3 separate regions of the Homo sapiens genome follow, and all the other regions are linked to region 3. Evidence: promoter capture Hi-C in 16 types of primary human blood cells and fetal thymus (Javierre and others, 2016). All regions are on one chromosome and are shown on one strand. The core of a region is centred on a gene start or on the middle of the fragment in contact, and the rest is flanking DNA. Distances in the headings are between cores, read along the strand shown.

Region 1 (2,992 bases), core at 427-2,926, 170 kb after region 3:
CCCACCACAAGAAGTACCTTCTGAGTAGCTAACTCAATTTTTAAGATGAAAGCCCATGAAATAAATAAAACTGCAAAGCATAAACTTGATTTTGACAAAGCCTGGGGAGTGATTCCCTGACAGGGGTAGAATTGAAGGAAGTGGTTTTTACTGCACACTTTACAGAACTTCTTATTGGTGTAATGTGGGGTATGAAAGGGAAAATAAATTTTTGTTCATGAAGTCATTGCTGAAGGCTTTCCCTAGCTGCTTAGCTTACTAATACGGTCTCATTGCTTTGTATCATTCTGAACCACCATGCATTCCATTCCCTTTTCATTGTAGCACTTCTCTAGAGGGCACCATCTTTTGCCAGTCCCTAGGTGGAAAAGACTTTGGAGTTTAAGCATACCACCATGCGTAAGACTGGTCCATTTCCTCAGCATTCCTCATTCAGGCTACCTTTTTGTTGGCAAAGCTAGTGACTTCCCATTCTACAATCAATTCACCAATATCTCTAATAGAAAATGTTAATGTTTGGTTTTGGTTCGCTGTATCCTAACAATGAAAACTTCCTCAACAATATTTAAAATTGTCTGTGGATCCTACCTGAATTAGGTTTGAAATAATAAACATTACCATGTCAAATAAAATCTTAACATTTTAATTCCTCATAGTCATTCTATAAATTGTATGACGTAATGTGGTATAGCAAAGAATAGCACTTGTGGAGAAAAACTCTATTTCTAGACATTTTGAGGGTGAGCTGAAATTCTTGCAACTACAGAATCATTTGAAAGGAGTGTATAAACTTAATGGACAGTCCCCCCACTCCCACATTTACACAGCTGTTACATATCTCTTTAACTATTAATATTGAAACAAAAATACTTTCTATTTACAAACTTCTGGGGTATCCTGCTCTTTAAAATTCTTCACTATGGTTTAGTATTAAATAGTCATGTCTTTTTCCTTATTTATTTTTTATTTTTTTGAGATGGAGTTTTGCTCTTGTTACCCAAGCTGGAGTGCAATGGCACGATCTTGGCTCACCACAACCTCTGCCTCCCAGGTTCAAGCGATTCTCCTGCTTCAGCCTCCTGAGTAGCTGGGATTACAGGTATGTGCCACCATGCCTGGCTAATTTTGTATTTTTAGTAGAGATGGTGTTTCTCCTTGTTAGTCAGGCTGGTCTTGAACTCCCGACCACAGGTGATCCACCTGCCTTGGCCTCCCAAAGTGCTGGGATTACAGGTGTGAGCCACTGCACCAAGCCATCTTTTTCCATTTTAATAAGAGATCATTTAATAATTTTTCTATTAATAATTTTTCTATTAATATTTTAGCAAATAAATTTTAAAAATGATTTCAAAAGAATACTCACATCCTCTATGTTTACTCAGTCTGTTTTGCATTATTGTAAAGGAATACCTGAGGTAATTTATAAGGAGAAGAGGTTTATTTGGCCCACTGTTCTGCAGGCTGTACAAGAAGCATGGTACCAGCATCTACTTCCGGCCAGGACCTCAGGAGGCTTCCAACCATGCTGGAGGTGAAAGGGGAGCAGGCGTGTCACATGGTGAGGGAGGGAACAAGAGAGGGGACAGGAGTGCCATGCTCTTTTAAACAATCAGCTCTCCTGTGAGCTAATAGAGAACTCACTCATTACAGTGAGGATGACGCCAATTTGGTCATGAGGAATCCACCTTCCTGACTCAAACGTCTCCCACCAGGCCCCAACTCTAACACTGGAGATCAATTTCAATATGAGATTTGGAGAGAACAAATATCCAAACTATATCACCACTTCATCATTCAACCCACCAAGCTCAGAGAACACAGCACCAAAACAAAAAAAAACCCTTTGATCCTCTTCCTCATCCTTCTCCCCCATCTCCCATGTCTTTGAAACCTGACTCAAAGAAAGAGGGAAGCCTCAGTAATTTGCTTCTTGAATTATAGCCATGTTCATCCTAGGCTTCCGGAGACAGTGGTTATAGTGGGTTTGCAGCACACTCACTGGAGCCAGACTGATATGGTTTGGATCTGTTCCCCACCCAGATCTCATCTTGAATTGTATTCCCATAATTCCCACATGTTGTGGGAGGGACCCAGTGGGAGATAAGTGGAATCATGGGAGCAGTTTCTCCCATAATGTTCTCATGGTAGTGAATAAGTCTCATGAGATCTGATGGTTTTATCAGGGGTTTCCGCTTTTGCATCTTCCTCATTTTCTCTTGCCACCACCATGTAAGAAGTGCCTTTTGCCTCCCACCATGATTCTGAGGCCTTGCCAGCCTTGTGGAAATGTAAGTCCAATTAAACCTCTTTTTCTTCCCAGTCTTGGGTATGTCTTTATCAGCAGCGTGAAAATGGACTAATACAGTAAATTGGTACCAGTTGAGTGGGGTGTTGTTGAAAAGATACCCAAAAATGTGGAAGCGACTTTGGAACTGGGTAATAGCCAGAGGTTGGAACAGTTTGGAGGGCTCAAAGAAGACAGGAAAAATGTGAGAAAGTTTGGAACGTCCTAGAGATGTGTTGAATGACTTTGACAAAAATGCTGATAGTGATATGAACAATAAGGTCCAGGCTAAGGTGGTCTCAGATAGAGATGAGGAACTCGTTGGGAACTGGAGCAAATGTGACTCTTGTTATGTTTTAGCAAAGGGACTGGTGGCATTTTGCCTCTGCCCTAGGGATATGTGGAACTTTGAACTTGAGAGAGATGATTTAGGGCATCTAGTGGAAGAAATTTCTAAGCAGCAAAGCATTCAAGATGTGACTTGGGTGCTGTTAAAGGCATTCAGTTTTAAAAGGGAAGCAGAGCATAAAAGTTCAGGAAATTTGCAGCCTGACAGTGCGATAGAAAAGAATCCTAGCTGGGCGCGGCAACTCACACCTGTAATCCCAGCACTTTGGGAGGCTGAGGTGGGCAGATCCCTTGAGGTCAGGAATTCTAGACTACCCTGGCCAACATGGTGAAACCCCGTCTCTACTAAAAATACAAAAA
Region 2 (3,479 bases), core at 980-3,479, 140 kb after region 3:
ACAATGGGAACACATGGACACAGGAAAGGGAACATCACACTCTGGGGACTGTTGTGGGGTGGGGGGAGGGGGGAGGGATGGCATTAGGAGATATACCTAATGCTAAATGACGAGTTGATGGGTGCAGCACACCAGCATGCCACATGTATACATATGTAACTAACCTGCACATTGTGCACATGTACCCTAAGACTTAAAGTATAATAATAATAAAAAAAAAACAACCATGCATGTCCTTCTGACCCACAGTAAGCCAAGAGAGAGCATGAATAGAAGGGTGGAAGAGATTGGGCCAAGGCTCCAGAGAAGGTCCTTGGCACCTGACCTTTGTTATATTAGTCCTTCCTTTTCCTGTGATATCTCTCTTTCACTCAGGTCATCTGCTCCTATCTCCTAAGGCCCATGGTTTTCATGATGGGTGTAGAGTGGACAGACTGTCCAATGGTGGCTGAGATGGTGGGAATCAAGTTCTTCATAAATGAGTTTGTGGCTTATCAGCAACTGTCTCAATACAAGAACAAACGTCTCTCTGGAATGGAGGAGTGGATTGAGGGAGAGAAACAGTGGATTTCTGTAAGTGACAATCCAAAAAGCATAAACACCGTGAGGTCTCAGCCATGGTTATCTGAGGGTAGACAGAAAGTGCCAAACAGGTTTGTTGCAGACCTGCAGATGCCTTTCTGGGGTCGCAGGCCTAACTACAAAGCCAGCAGAACAGCCTACCTAGCAGCCTCATCTGCAGCGCCTGAGCTATTATGGGTCTGCATGCTATTTTCCCCCTGCCACCCCCACCACTGCCCCAACTGTGACCCAACTTCTCTCTATAATGTAATTGCTGGGTCTTTACAGCTGGGGCAGTCCAGGGCAGACACTATCTTTTGATGGTCTAAGGTCCCCTTCTTCACTTATAAGTTTAAATTGCTCCAAATTAATATTCTTTTTCTTTCCCTTTGCCTCTCTCCTCCTCCTTCGCAATCCTTCTCATTCCCAGGCCTTCTCGTTATTCATAGCCTTCAACAGGAACAGCGTTGGGCAATGAGGCCCATGGTGGTTTCCATGTCATTATCCCTATAGTAACTCAGGGAACAGTTGTTTTCTGAGCATCCTTTCATGTTCCTTGGGAAACCATGGAAAAGACTGGGGGCTGTCAGTACTCTGGAACTTCTATTGTGATTATAAGACCGCACGCATGGGACTGAATTTATTTGCTTATTTATTTTTGTTTTCCCTAGGTGAGAGCTGAAATCATTACAACATTTTCACTCTGTGGATTTGCCAATCTTAGTTCCATAGGAATCACACTTGGAGGCTTGAGTGAGTTCATCCATTTTCCCAGCTCCCCAGTAAGACAGCCAGATCCCAGCTTCTGTAGTGGGCAGTCCTGGTGCTTCAGTACAAGCTGGGATCAGATAGAGAAGCCATTGTGAAATGGGCCCATTTCTTAGGCTGCAGTTAACTTGGACCTAAGGCAGTCATGCCCACCTGGCTAATGCATACAGCCCTTTATAATCTCAACTTCAGTTACTTCTTTTTCCTTTGGATTGGAGGCCCCAAAAACTAATTTTATTTTAATTTTCTCTATGAGGAAGAAAATATAATGATATTATTTCAATTTTGCCATTAAATTGGAATAGTGCATATATAAATAAAGATATTTATTTATTTATTTATTTAATTTTTTTTGAAACAGAGTCTCACTCTGTTGCGCAGGCTGGAGTGCAGTGGTGTGATCTCAGCTCACTTAAACCTCCACCTCCTGGGTTTAAGTGATTCTCATGCCTCAGCCTCCCGAGCTGGGATTACAAGTGTGTGCCACTATGCCCATTATTATTATTATTATTTTTTTTGTATTTTTAGAAGAGACGGGGTTTCACCATGTTGGCCAAGCTGGTCTTGAATTCCTGGCCTCAAGTGATCTGCTGCCTTGGCCTCCCAAAATGTTGGGATAACAGGCGTGAGCCACCACACCTGGTCTTGTATTTTATTCAGTAGTGAAGACACTTTTTGAAATTAGGCTGCTCACTAGTCATCCTCATGGAAACACAAAGAATTAAAACAAATAAAAGCAGCAGGCACATAAGGCAGATAGACAGTAAGAGAGAGTGGTGTAAAGTGTTGGATTTAAATATGCAAGTACCAAATGTTAAAGGAGTGGGTCTTTGAAGCAGACACAGATATATTTAGACTGTTGGAGATACTGCTGCATGGGGGTGATTGTTGGAGGAATAATATGAGGAAAGTGGAATTGTCCTTGAGTGCAGGGGCACAGGGGTGACTAGCAGATCCCAAGTTTGGAAGATCCAAGTTAGAAATGGATCTTAGGCTGGATGTGGTGGCTCATGCCTGTAATCCCAACACTTTGGGCCAAGGCAGGAAGATTGCTTGCTATAGGAGTTTGAGAGCAGCCTGGGGCAACATGGTGAGATTCTGTCTCTACGAAGAATTTGAAAGTTAGCTGGGCATATTTGCACATATGCCTGTAGTCCTATCTACTCGGGAGGCTGAGGTGGGAGGATTGCTTGAACTCAGATCGAGCCTCCAGTAAGCTGTGATTGCACCACTGCACTCCGGCATGGGTGACATGGGGAGGTCCTGTAGAAAGAAAAAAAGAAGAAAAGGAAGGAAGGAAGGAAGGAAGGAAGGAAGGAAGGAAGGAATCTTAGAAGGAGTAGATTATAATAAGAAATATAGCTCAGTGTGTCCCTTTTTAAAGGCAATTATATTCTGGGGTAGAGTCATTTAATTCATGTACTTGGTAGCCAATTTAATTGAAAGGTGAAATAATTCCCTTTCAGTTTACCTTTTCCCCTTCTGTCAAACACCTGACTGTATTGTTCTAGTCTTGATGCCTGATTACTGTCCGATTATGAGACTGCCATCTAGTAGTGGGATATGCATTGTGTGGCTAAGTCTTAGGCCACACAATGAGTGTTGCTTTCCTTAGCCCTCTGTCTCAAAATAGTCCATCTAATTCTGGTCCAGGCTTAAGAGTGCGTATCTCAAGCAGTGAACGCCAGGCATTTGTACCTGTCTGGAGAAACCCAGAGCCTTGCTTTATCCAGATACATCTTGGGTATGTTCACAGAACCATTAAAGTGAGGGTCAGACACTCAATACTTGATCTGAGGAAAGTCTAAGTTAGTGATCCCTCAGGACTAATGTATACACACACTTCTTAGGGCAACACTGGCCAGTCTCAGGTGGATGGTAATAAGGATGCTCTTCATCGGCTGTGTTTTGTTTCTCTGCGTTCTTCTAAGTGGGGGCCCATGGGATATACCTGATTGCCTTGGTGGGGAAAAGCTGAAGTTATTTTATTTTATTGTCTGCAGCATCAATAGTACCTCACCGGAAGAGTGACTTGTCCAAGGTTGTGGTCAGGGCCCTCTTCACAGGGGCCTGTGTATCCCTTATCAGTGCCTGTATGGCAGGTAGGTGCCTCAGCTCTGATGGAGATACTGCTGCATGAGGGTGATGGT
Region 3 (3,510 bases), core at 632-3,131:
TGGGGTGGGGGGAGTTTCCCACACTTTAGGGTCCTCCTTTCTCACCTGGCCTAGGGAGGAGGAGGCAGCATCCTCCCTTTCCAGGCTCCCTTATGTACTGAAGACTTTCCTTATGCTCAATCTTATTATAGACACAATTACCCAATCCTTACCTACCACAGGTTGAAGTGGAGTTCCTATGTGTGTATGAGAGGTGGGTAAAACATAAAGTTACAATCTTTAAGAAAATTCAGCCTAGAACAACCTCCAGCCTTCTTCATTCAAAGTTATGTGCTAACGTCTTGTGGCCTCTCTTGTAGCCTGACAGGACTTTTTTCCTGAAGTCTTCCCCCTTGCCCACCTCCCCCATCTGCTGGAAACTATAGAGTAAGGGCCACTAATTCTCCACAAGTGGGGAGTGGGTGACATGGCTGGAGTTGCCAAGACCTCTGATTGGTAATGCACAGCTACTGCAATGTGATGCTTTTTTCTCTGATTGGGGTAGACCCCATTAAACGTTTACAGCTGTGGCTAGCTAAGGGGACCCTGTCAGGAACTCCTGTGCTAGACTTTCCTCTTCAAGGAAGGGGTCTGTGTGTACGTGTGTATCTGTGTATGAATGTATATGTGTGTTGTTGCACAAAAATAGGAGTTAAGTGGAGAAATTGAACAAGATCTGAAAAGTGGATTGGAGGCAGGATTCCCCAGTAAGGGCTGATGTGGATAAGGAATTCAAGGGTGCAGAATCATGCAAGCCAAAGTATCCAGACTCGAGTTAAACTGGGATGGCGATTCGATGTCTATAAACCTTGTGGCATTTATGGCCTTAAGAGGTTTTCCTTGCCTCCCCAGTTTCTTACCAAACTCTCTCTTTGAAGAACTCCCACTTGATCCGAACTTGGTCTGGATGAAAGCAGGAAGTGCAGCCCTAGGTGCCAGGGCGGGAGCAAGCACTTCAAGACCCCCTCCAAAATCACCTGGACCGCACAGATCTAAGCAGCCGCATCCCCCACCACCCACACCCGGACCACTATTCCCTACCTTCCCCTCTTCCAAACAGTGCGTGTGTGGCAGCCTGCGCCTCTCGCCTTCCCCCGTGGAACCTCACACGAAGCGCCCCCGGGGGTGTGATTAAAGAGGGAACCAGGTCCCGACGTTCTGTGAACAAACGCGCGCCCTTACTCTCAGTGGGGCTCCCGTCCGACCCCCACTCCTCTCCTAACTCACGTAAGGACCCGGCTGTGACCGGACAAACCGGGTCTGGGGTGCTTCCAGTCACTCTTCAAGTCACTCCCAAACTTCTCAGACTGCACCCGAGGCTCTGCGGCGCCGCCTCCCTCTCCCGGCCTGGTACAGAGAAGGGCTGGGTGCGCCAGGACAGTAGTACCGGGGTCTGCCAGCTCCGCAGAGGTCCCTCCAATCCCCCCTCCTCCTCTGCGCCCCCCCACCCATGCCCAGCAATCCCAGCAGCTCCAGCGCAAACCTAGCGACGCAGTTCCGGGTCTGGCGGGGCGCGGGCGCGGCTCGCAGGGCGGTGGGACCCCCAAGACCTCACGAGGATCCCCGGAGGGAGACGTGACTCCGGGGTCTTAGAGGGGTTTAGGTCGGATGGGTGACTTGCTTTGACGCCTGGCCTGGTCTGTGGGTGGCAGGTGATCGATGGCCTTGGACTTGGAGCCCAGACCCGACGGTGTCGAGAGGATCTGAGGAGAGTCTCCCCTCCCCATACCCTCTCCGCCTCCCACCCTCTCCCCAGCCCCATGGGACTTGTGAAGGCGGACTTGCTTTTTTCGCCGTCCACACAACCGCACTAGCCGGGCCTTCGGCACCGACGGAACATCTCTACCTGCGCCCCGGGAGCCCTCGCCGTCTCACCTCGCGCGCTGCCGTCCGCTGGAAGCACCTCCGCGCCTCCCCAGGCGCCAGACTCCATCCCGCCCCACTGCGCCCCGCCCCGTGGCTGAGCCGAGCCGGGCCGTGCCTTCCCCTCCTCACCCCCAGCCCCGCCCGTCCCGGCGCAGAGCTGCAGAGGCACCGGACGAGAGAGGGCTCCGCGGGCCCAGCTGGCAGCCAGGCCGGAGACAAGTTGCAGTCCCGGGCTCTGGTGACGCCGTGGCCGCAGGTCAGATTTGGGAGGGCTTTTCCCGGCCCGCGGGCCTGGGCGCTCCGGGGGAGGGAGCTCCAAGGGCAGGGTGGCGGGGGAGCCGCAGCTCCTCCACGTTATGGAAGAAAGGGGAATGCTAGCCCCCTGCGCCTCCGATCTTATCCTAAGGCTAAAACCGGTCCTGTTAGGGCCTGTCCTCTGCCCAATCAAGGTTTTGAGAGACTGGGTTCTTTGGGACCTGGGAATGTTGGGTGGCCTAGTTTGCCTGGGCCTGCGGGTTCTTCTCCTGGCACCAGCACAACATACCAGGGAGGGAGCTTTGGGCTTTAGGATCCAAGCTTTCCCCCTCAGCCCTCCCTTAGGACCAAGATGGCCTTGACCCATCTTCCTCCCACCTCAGGGCCACCAGGGTCACCACTCTAGGGCTTCAGGCTGGAAAAGCAGCCATGTGGGGCAAGAACAGGCAGGCCTGTGTTCTCTCTCTGGTTCTGCCGCTGGCTCTGCCTGGGGCTTCACTGCCCTGTCCTGGGCAACCTTCCTGTCAAGGTTGTTGAGAAGTTACTGCCCCATCGTTGTGTAAATCATTAAGGGCAACCCACCCACAAGGAGTGGTTATTAAGCATGTCCACCTTCCTCTTCAGGTCATCCCCACACAGCCTGGTCTGAAAGCCCATTTCATGCCCTTAGGGGCTGAGTGGTACATTAGCGTTGAGGCCCAGGATCCTGAAGACATGGTGGTGGCGGGGGAGGGGAATGACATCTTGGGATCAGGGAAGGACCGCTGTGGCTACTTCCGTATATCCAGCTTTACAGCTTCAACCATCCAGAGCCCAGCTCTTCATGCACTATTAAAGGCCAGCACCTGGACAGACTCTGTGAAATGCAGCAGGTGATACTGAGCTTTCCAGTTATGGCAGGGCCTAGGTTTTTTCATTTAATAGGAGATGGAGTAGGGATGAGGTCACTCCCTGGGTTCTCTCCTCTAGACAACCCATCCAGGAACCCTGATGTTTGGCTGGGGATGAGGCTTTCCCTGAGCTCCTTTCTTCCTCTATCCTAACCCCAATCTCCAGGTTGCCTTCAGGAGGTCTTCGCCGGCTTTAGGTACTCCTTACTCGCACTCAGGAGTCCCAGCCTGAGTCCTCTGCTGCCTCTGTTTCCCTGTTGACTCTGGGTGGAGAGAGAGAGAGCAGGAAGCTTGCACTAAATACATGAGCACCTGGTAGTGCATCCCTTCTGGATCCAACCAGAGGAGACAAGCTCCCGCCTACCCTCTCTATATCACATTTGCCCAACACCTGTCACTTGCTTTGAATTAAACCTCCTTCTCACATTTGATTCTGGCAACCATGCTTAGAAGTAAACAGTTCAGGCATATTTGCTCCCATAGCTGGAAGAGGAAAACAAGGATCAGATTGGAGAAGTGA

What was found. The method cuts DNA at HindIII sites, captures the fragments that hold promoters and counts their contacts. A CHiCAGO score of 5 or more calls a contact.
Region 1: a fragment that was not itself captured here is called in contact with the fragment with the promoter of DUOXA1 in region 3 in 1 of 17 cell types (naive B cells); the score reaches 6.1 in naive B cells.
Region 2: a fragment that was not itself captured here is called in contact with the fragment with the promoter of DUOXA1 in region 3 in 9 of 17 cell types (naive B cells, naive CD4 T cells, M2 macrophages and 6 more); the score reaches 9.2 in naive B cells.

What each region holds. Positions count from the first base shown.
Region 1 is chr15:45,294,619-45,297,610 of GRCh38, forward strand. No RefSeq gene overlaps it. Among named protein-coding and RNA genes, the nearest start is that of SLC28A2-AS1, 17 kb to the left of the region's middle. The HindIII fragment of the contact is 8,488 bases long and covers 1-2,992 here.
Region 2 is chr15:45,268,963-45,272,441 of GRCh38, forward strand. SLC28A2 (solute carrier family 28 member 2) reads left to right here. Exons shown (of 18, transcript NM_004212.4): 14 at 376-573; 15 at 1,233-1,314; 16 at 3,333-3,431. The region is part of intron 1 of SLC28A2-AS1 (SLC28A2 antisense RNA 1); the gene reads right to left. Among named protein-coding and RNA genes, the nearest start is that of SLC28A2-AS1, 8.5 kb to the right of the region's middle. The HindIII fragment of the contact is 8,722 bases long and covers 1-3,479 here.
Region 3 is chr15:45,127,998-45,131,507 of GRCh38, forward strand. It overlaps DUOXA1 (dual oxidase maturation factor 1), which reads right to left and starts at 1,882. Exons shown (of 9, transcript NM_001276266.2): 1 at 1,855-1,882; 2 at 1,463-1,618; 3 at 1,021-1,137. It overlaps DUOX1 (dual oxidase 1), which reads left to right and starts at 1,997. Exons shown (of 34, transcript NM_175940.3): 1 at 1,997-2,101. The HindIII fragment of the contact is 6,225 bases long and covers 1-2,419 here.